Linked DNA regions of Homo sapiens: region 2 is linked to region 1. The links are contacts of gene promoters, found by promoter capture Hi-C in human tissues and cell types (Jung and others, 2019). All regions are on one chromosome and are shown on one strand. The core of a region is centred on a gene start or on the middle of the fragment in contact, and the rest is flanking DNA. Distances in the headings are between cores, read along the strand shown. Region 1 holds the start of GABRA5 (gamma-aminobutyric acid type A receptor subunit alpha5). Region 2 has its middle 9.3 kb from the start of GABRB3.

What was found. Contacts are between HindIII fragments. The study calls those that stand out against the background at their distance.
Region 2: a fragment that was not itself captured here is called in contact with the fragment with the promoter of GABRA5 in region 1 in 3 of the 25 tissues and cell types used here (aorta, heart right ventricle and stomach).

The regions. Positions count from the first base shown.
Region 1 is chr15:26,864,588-26,869,095 of GRCh38, reverse strand. It overlaps GABRA5 (gamma-aminobutyric acid type A receptor subunit alpha5), which reads right to left and starts at 2,034. Exons shown (of 11, transcript NM_000810.4): 1 at 1,985-2,034; 2 at 303-367. The HindIII fragment of the contact is 20,920 bases long and covers 1-4,508 here.
Region 2 is chr15:26,780,107-26,784,614 of GRCh38, reverse strand. No RefSeq gene overlaps it. Among named protein-coding and RNA genes, the nearest start is that of GABRB3, 9.3 kb to the right of the region's middle. The HindIII fragment of the contact is 3,496 bases long and covers 755-4,250 here.

The DNA.
Region 1 (4,508 bases), core at 785-3,284:
ATCACAACAATTTGCAAAGAAAGGAGCCCGCTGTCCTTCCCCAGGACAGCTGCACACCAGGTATTTTCCATCACCCTCACTGGGCAGTAAGTTGGAGCATAAAAATAAGTAACAAGAGGCTTATTTTTACTTCTACTCAGGGTGCAGAATCACCCTAATTCGTTGTTTTCCACTCAAATACTCTGTTTTGTTTTTTAGCATGTTATCAAATAAACCATTAGTCCAATTATTAAAATAAACGCTGTAGTTATCTGAGCGACTGTATTTTGTATCCGTCAAATCCACAAGTGTAGTAATTTTACCTTTCTGAAATATCTGCCACGCCACGCGTTCAAAGCCAGCAAGCTACTCCTCTCTCTGCAAGGCACTGAGAAAGTACGTGGAAAGAAGTGGGGAAAAGCACATTTAAGAAACAGGTTTTCTGCAGGATCACAATACTGTGACAACTGCCTATAAAAGAGTGTGGCTACTTTCCCGGCATTCGGTCCCCGTGACTACATAACTTAAGCACTGCATCTGTGGAAGTCTCTCCACTCAATGCTGGACCCTAATTAATGTATTTGAGATCCAGGCAGACATTGTCCCTGGGCTCAACGACTAACCTTCCTGAAAACACGCATTTCTCAGTATGCGCATAACGCAAATAGGTGCTCACAGGCATCCGAACAGTATGCTTCGAAAAGAAGCATTTTCCCAAGAAGCCCCCCCAACCCCCATCCCCCGCAAACTCCGGAATTGGGAGACACAACAGGTACTTCCACCTCGGAAGCGAAGGCCTTCTGCGACTCCTGCCAAGAAGGGCAGGGTGCCATGCGGTGGTCGCCTGGGCGCGTCCGGGGGGCTCGTCGCGGGGCCCGGGCCAGAGCCAGGCGGCGAGCACGCGGCGCTGCATGCGGGAAACCCGGGCGGCGCCTCCCGCCGCCCCTCAGCCCCGAGCCAGGGACCCCCAGGAGAGGCTGCGCTCCCACGACCCTCCGGACCCCCACAGAGGCTCACCAGGGCCGGCGCGCCAGGGCAGGTGGGCGCGGGGGCTGCACTGCGGAGCCGCAGCCTGGGTCGCCCTGGCACCCGCGGTCGCCACCCGCGCGGTCCGCAGCGGCACGCCGAGGGTCTCCAGCTCCCCGGCCCTCCCCGGCTCGCTCCCGGCTTTCGCAGACTTCCCCTGCTCCTGCCCCGGGTACGAGCCAAGCGCTCCGCCAGGCAGCGCCTTCCTCCTGGGCTGGGAGCGCGCGGTGCAGCAGCGACTCCAAGTCCCCTGGCCTCGAGCAGCCCGCGCGACACGCGCGCGACACCCCCGCGGGGTCCGAGTCCACCCCGCGAGCAGCGCCGGGACGCCGCGCGCCTCAGAGCCCCGGGGCTGACGCTGGCTTTCCAGGTGGGCGATCTCACCCCTCCGGCTCCCGTGATGGTGGCAACGGGTGTCCCCCACCCCCAACCGGTCACCGCGCCCTGGTGCCCCGTCCGGCAGGGATGAGCCGCCCGGACCCCGCTCTCTCCCGCGCCCGGCTTCAGCCCCGCAGTCGCCAGGGTAAAGTTTGCGCTCTGGCCTGGCTGCGCGCCCCGCCTGCTCTGCACCTCTCCTCCCCGGCCACGCAGCCTGCCGCTCAGGCGCCCCGAGGAGAAGGGTGCGGACCGAGCCGGGGCGGCCGGTCCTCTTCCCCGCTCGCGTCCTCTTACCCCACTGCCCCGGCCCAGCGCGCCCAGGGCTCACCCTGCGCGCCGGCCCCGGGAGGCGAGCCGTCGGTGAGGATGCATCCTCCTTCTCCTCCGCCTGCTCTCGCCCGGCTGGCAGGCGCGGAAGGCCGGTGCGGCGTCACCGCCCCATGCTGCCAGCGCGAACTTCCCCGGCACTCCCGGCGGAGCGGCTCTTGCGCCCCGCGCTCCCGCCGCCGCCCTGCAGCTCCGCTCCGCGCCGCGCCCCGGGCCGCGCGCCGCCCGCCGCAGAGCCCCCCAGCGCCCCCGGCGCACTCGCGCCCGCTCTCACCTCGCCCGAGCGCCACATGTCGTCTCTGGGCTGGAGGATCGGCCCTCTGCAGAGGTGCTCCGGTAGAGGCCGCCAGACGCTCAGCAAATGCGCCCTTGGCCGAGCTGGGCGGAGGGGGAGGGCGCAGGGCCCCCGGCTCGGCCTGCAAGGGGAGAGGCCCTGTTCTGCTGAAGTTTCTCCAGGGCCCTCAACAGCATCTTCGGCGCCTCGTGTAGTCACCACCGCCCGCTTGTAGAGCAGGGATGGGAGGGCAGTGTCAGCAGTCGGGTGATAGAGGCCTGGACTCCGACAGCTTTGCTCCCTAGAGCCGGCCCCAACGCCTCCCTGCCCAGGCCTGGGTCCTTCCCGGGTGCTCCATGGCACCCCTTACATGCGCATCTCTTAGGCGCTTCTGAAAGAAGCTGGCCTGTGGACATTCTTTTCATCTCACTCATAGACAGGAATGCATAACTACGGGAGGGAAAGCCAGGGTCACATTGGACTCGATTAGAATGAAATCCTTACCTAACGCAGTGTATATCTGGGGGTTTTCTGAAGTTCCATTTCTTGACAACAAGCCGCAGTGGCAAACGGGAAAGGGCCAGGAGCCCTGGGGGCTGCAGGTCGGAGAGCGCCTCTGGGGTGACGGGGCGGGATCTCCCCAGCAGGGCTTCCGAGCCACGTCGGGTCACTGCCTCATTAGCCACGTACATGGGGTCTTACTATGGTCATTACGTCGGTGTGTCGTCCGTCCTAGTGGTGCAGTTCCTGGGAGGTGAGGGTGGCATTAATGACAACTGCGCGGCAGCAGGGCCCCTTCAAACAACACAAGTAAGAGCGCATCGTCTTGGGTTTGCCAGGTCTTGCTTCCTCAGGAGGTGGGGGACTCTCGACTATAACACCCAGTGGAAAACGTTCAAGACTCAAAGGAAAGCCACTGAAAACGTGATGGGGAGGTTTACTTACACCATTGTCCCATTCCTTTTGTGAAACTGCATTATTCATAATCTCTTTTAACAGAATAATGGTAAGTAAAGGCAAATTCCTAACTCCCCTCCAGGAAAGATCTTTGACCTTCCAGTGTAGGAAGCCTCTCATTTTTCCAGTTATCTCTAATACAGTGTATTCCAAATCTAAGTTACCTGTTAATACTTCTGCACATTCCAGAAATTCTGAAATTTTCTGAAAAACAAAACTTGTAAATCTATTCCAGGAATAGGACATAAATATACATAAATGTGCAAATATACAGGAAGTGTTTCTCTGAATATACATTTAGCCACACTATTAAATAACTGTTTCCAGTGGTTCTTCAGGAAATATGAATGAAATAAGATGCTAATTTGAATTTTCTAATTCTAAAATGGATCACTGAACGTATGCATTTCTTCATTTTCTAATTTCCCAAAAGATGTACCACTAGGGTGAAATTCCTTGGGAGACATTAAATTTTAAAAAGTTAACAACATGGTTTTATGATCAGCCTAATATAATTTTCACCTATTAGGTGTTGGAATTCTAACACCTAATACCAGCGACAGCTGCTCTTCTCTCAGGATTAAACAGCATAATGCAAATCAAAGAGTTGGAAGAATTGGTAAATTTTAAACTTCACAGCTTGTCACACAAAGTCATTCGGTGTGAGTTTGCAAAAATAAATGTATATAAACAAGGGATGATTTTTGTATTAGCGAGGGTTATAGACATTAATTCTTAATAATAAAAGAAATGTCAGCTGTAAGGAAATATGTTCTTTTGATGGATTATGTTTAAAACTTCCACTTTTTTTGGTACACTTTCTATCAGCTTTATGTCCACACAACACATATTATTGAATATATAAAAATCATTTTAAGTTAGAGTCATTCTTTAACATTGTATTTCAGCATGTTGCTTAAATTCTTTTCTCTTCCCTGTAATGAAACGGTATGCCACTCTCTCTCCTCCTAGTGTTTATGTAACATAACATAGCCTCACTTTAGATGGACTGCCCTGAGGGGACAGTGAAATCGTAAGGCCCATCAGAACCTTACAGAAACTCACATTGCTAGAAGAGTGCTTACTACCATTTCAATGATTTTTGTTTTACTATAGAATTCTGTATTTGTGCTGAGAAATAATAGGCTATCCGTTGAATTCCCATTTGTTTCATTAGCATTTTCTCTTCATTGAATGAAATTAAGCAATGTCGTGATCGTTGTGGAAGACAGTAGAGGGCACCCTAGTTCCACACAACCTCAGCCTTGGCCCGGGCTTCATAAGAATTTCATTTCCAGTGTCAGAGCCTAAAATAGCTGAAGGTGGGGAAGCTGGGCCATGAGTAGAACACGTGTTCACAGAGCACCCACCCTGTACCCCGGTCAGGGGCAGGAACTGAGACAGTGGCTGTGTTTGCGTGGTTGGGTGTGGTAAATGTGGCTGAGACATGAACACAGTGCCATGGTATAAGTGAGATCATGTGCTATTTGTCTTTCTGTGCTTGGCTTATTTCACCAAGCATGTTCTCCAGGTTCATCCATGTGGTCAAAAATGGCAGGATTTCCTT
Region 2 (4,508 bases), core at 1,253-3,752, 85 kb after region 1:
CACCAGATTTTGAATACTTACTATGACACTTTTTTTCATTACATCGATTAAAGGTTGAAATATATTTTGGATATATTGGGTTAAATAAAATGTTACTAAAATTAATGCCACTTATTTCCTCTTTTTAATATGGCTACAGAATGTTTTTGAAAATTTCAGTGTGTGGCTTACATTACATTTCTATTAAATAGATCTGAACTGGACAGTCCAGCTAAAAGGAAGGAATTATCAGACATGATTAAAGAAGCTTGGCCTGACTAAATGAAGCCCGCAAAAAAGATTTTAACTCTAAGCAAATAGGTTGAAATAAAAGGAAAAATTGTAAAAGAGTTGGAGTACTTACTAAGATAAGACAAAGCTGGCTCCAGGCAAAGAATACTACCAGCAACAAAGAGGAACATTTCAGATAATAAAAGAGACAATTCATTGGGTGGATCACAAGCTCAGGAGTTCGAGACCAGCCTGGCCAAGATGGTGAAACCCCATCTCTACTAAAAATACAAAAAACTAGCCAGGTGTGTGGTAGTGCGCACCTGTAGTCCCAGCTACTCAGGAGTCTGAGGCAGGAGAATCGCTTGAACCCTGGACGCAGAGGTTGCAGTGAGCCAAGATCATGCCACTGCACTTGGCCTGGGCAACAGAGCAAGAATCCATCTTAAAAAAAAAAAAAAATCGTACAACTCCTGCATGCCTATGCACCAAATAACAGTTTGAAAAGACAAGTAGGCAAGTAGCAGAAACTCAAAGAATTGAAAGAAGTAATAGACAAATAATAATAATATTTAAAGACATCAACATTCCCCTCTCAGTAATTGACTAAACAAGTACACAGAAAATCAGTAAGGATATATAAAACCCAAACATCACTGTCAGCCAACTTAACCTAATTGACATTTATACAATACTCCAAAGAACAGAATGCACTATCTGCTCAAGTGTGCATGGTATAATCACCAACCTAAACCATGCACAGGTCAGAAATTTTATCACAGCAAATTTAGAAGAGCTGAATCTATAGGAAATATGTTCTCTGATTATAACAAAATTAAACATAACAATAGAATCTAGCATCTTTTAATGGTTTGAAATTAGAGAACATACTTCTAAATACCTATGGCTAATAAAAATCAAAATAAATGAGAAAATAGTGAAGTAAATTAAAATTAAAATATAGCATACTAAATGTTTTGGAATACTACTGCAGCTTAGAAATACATAGCTTTAAATGCCCGTATTAGAAAAGTCCTAAAAATCATTAAGCTTCAATCCTAAGAAACTAGAAAAGGAAAAAGCAAAGTAAGCCCAAAGAAAGTAGAAGAAAGGAAATAGTAAAAACAAAAGCAGAAATCAATGATACAAAACAGACAATAGAGCAAAGTGGTGCAACCAAAAACAGATCATTTGAAAAGATGAATGAAAGTAAGCAACTTTTAGCTAGACTTATCAATATAAAAAAGAGGACACAACCTACTAATATCAGAAAAGAAAGTGGGAGCATAACTACATGCACTACAAACTTTAAAAATTATAAGGGAATGTTATAAATATTTTTTATTAATAAGTTCAGAAATAAGTTAGAAATCTAAATAGCCTATGTCTGCTGAAGATAATGTATTTATTATTTAGAAATTAAAATGTTCAAACTTCATTGGCTTCATTGGCAAATTCTAGGAAATATTTAAGAAAGATGTAATGACAATCCTACAGAAAAATCTTTCAAAAATTACAGGAGAAAGGAACACACATGGAACCTTGCTTTCTGAGGTCAGCATCGCACTAATACAAAAACTAGGCGAGAAAAGGCAAACATACACCAAAACACTCATGACCTTAGGCACACACATTTTTAATAATAATATTGGGCAATCAAATGCAGTAACAGGTAAAAAGTATAAGCAAAATGACCAAGCAGTGTTTATCCTAGGAATACAAATATTGCTTAACATTTGAAAAATCAATGTCATTTATCATGTTAAAAGAGTAAAGGAGAAAATTAATGATTATCTCATAGATACAAAAAAAAGCATCTGATGAAATTGCATACCTTTCTTGATAAAGACTCTCCATTAAACTAGGAATAGTAGGCAATTTCCTTAATCTGATAAAGAGGATCTGCAGAACTTCCTTACACTTTTTTTTTTTTAGTTTGAAGTCATAACATTGCAGAAAACTTTTCTCACATATCTTAGTGTGGTTTCATACATACAAAGAGCCTTTCAGTGTTATTACAATCCAACCATCAAAATATCAGGAAATAGATACTGTTAAATTATTGCCATTCAATCTTTACACCCCATTTAAGATCAATCAATTGCCTCATTAAAATATTTTACAGCAAAATGATGGAGTCCAGAACTATGCATGCATTAAGAATTCCTGTCTCTGGTTTACTTTCGTTTGGAGTAGTTTATCAGTCTTTTCTGGTGAGAGGTGACAGCGTGCTGGCAGCACTCACAGCCCTCGCTCGCTCTCGGGACCTCTTTGGCCTTGGCGCCCACTCTGGCCACGCTTGAGGAGCCCTTCAGCCCGCAGCTGCACTGTGGGAGCCCCTTTCTGGGCTGGCCAAGGCTGGAGCTGGCTCCCTGAGCTTGTCGGGAGGTGTGGAGGGAGAGGCGCGGGCGGAACCGGGGCTGCCTGCGAGGCTTGCTGGCCAGCGTGAGTCCTGGGTGGGCGTGGGCTCAGCGAGCCCCACACTCGGAGTGGCCAACCGGCCCCGCGGGCTCCAGGCAGTGAGGGGTTTAGCACCTGGGCCAGCAGATGCTGTGCTCGACTTCTCGCCGGGCCTTAGCTGCTTCCCCGTGGGGCAGGGCTCAGGACCTGCAGCCTGCCATGCCTGAGCCTCCCCACCTTTGCCTTGGGCTCCTGCACAGCCGGAGCCTAGCAGATGAGCGCTGCCCGCTGCTCCATGGTGTCCAGTCCCATTCAGCACCCAGGGGCTGAGGAGTGCGGGTGCATTGCATGGGACTGGCAGGCAGCTCCACCTGCACCCCCGTGCGGGATCCACTGGGTGAAGCCAGCTGGGCTTCTGAGTCTGGTGGGGACTTGGAGAACCTTTATGTCTGGCTAAGGAATTGTAAATACACCAATTGGCACTCTGTATCTAGCTCAAGGTTTGTAAACACACCAGTCAGCACCCTGTGTCTAGCTCAGGGTTTGTGAATGCACCAATTGACACTCTGTATCTAGCTACTCTGGTGGGGACTTGGAGAAGCTTTGTGTGGACACTGTATCTAGCTAATGTAGTGGGGAGGTGGAGAACTTTTGTGTCTAGCTCAGGGATTGTAAATGCACCAATCAGCACCCTGTCAAAATGGACCAATCAGCTCTCTGTAAAACAGACCAATTGGCTCTCTGTAAAGTGGACCAATCAGCAGGACGTGGGTGGGGCCAGGTAAGAGAATAAAAGCAGGCTGCCCTAGCTGGCAGTAGCAACCCGCTTGCATCCTTTTCTGTAGTGTGGAGGTTTTGTTCTTTTGCTGTTTGCAATAAATCTTGCTGCTCCTCACTCTTTGGGTTCATCCTGGCTTTATGAGCTGTAACACTCAGTGTGAAGGTCTGCAGCTTCACTCCTGAAGCCAGTGAGACCACGAACCCACGAGAAGGAAGAAACTCTGAATACATCTCATCATCAGAAGGAACAAACTCTGGACACGTTGCCGTTAAGAACTGTAACACTCACCACGAGGGTCTGTGGCTTCATTCTTGAAGTTAGTGAGACCAAAAACCCACCAATTCTGGACACAATGGAATTTGCACTTTTGGATTATTATAGGGTTATTATGTTGTAGGAACTCTCTTAATTTGGGTTTGTCTGATGTTTTCTTGTGATTGGATTTAGCTTGTATATTTTTGTGAAAATGACAAACTGATATAATCTTCTCACTGCATTATATCATGAGATGCATAATTTTGAGATACCTCATTTTTTAAATTTGTTCATATAGATCTGTTGATTAAGGTAGTATTGGCCCAGCTGAATTATAAATATACTATTTTTAAATTATAATTAATTTTATAGTTAATTTTATAATTTTGTGAAACACATACTTAAATGCTATGTAATATATTACCGTTAATGATCAAAATATATCATTCATGATCAAACACAATGTGTATGAACTCTAATTTTCCAATTTTTTCCTTTGGGTTGTAATTCATTATTTTAGGGTTGTAATTCATTTTTTTTAAATTTTTACTCAAATCATCCCAGAATTAGGCAGTATAAAAACATTCAAGCTGGATTTTGTGTCTTTTTGACATGTTCTCATCATTCTTTGAACACCTCCTTGCTCTGCCACAAGTGTTCCAATCCTATCTTACACTTTCCCTGTCTGTCTCTGGAAGTATCCATTTTCCCAAGTAGCTCTGGTTCCTTTCAGTAGAAAATAGTATGGAGAAGCCAAGATCTGGGTGCAGAGGGTGTTCATTGCTATTGTGCTGTCACTGTTCCCAGGCCTCTTGGTGGGTAGAAGCAGAGAATATATATACACACACAAACACACACACGT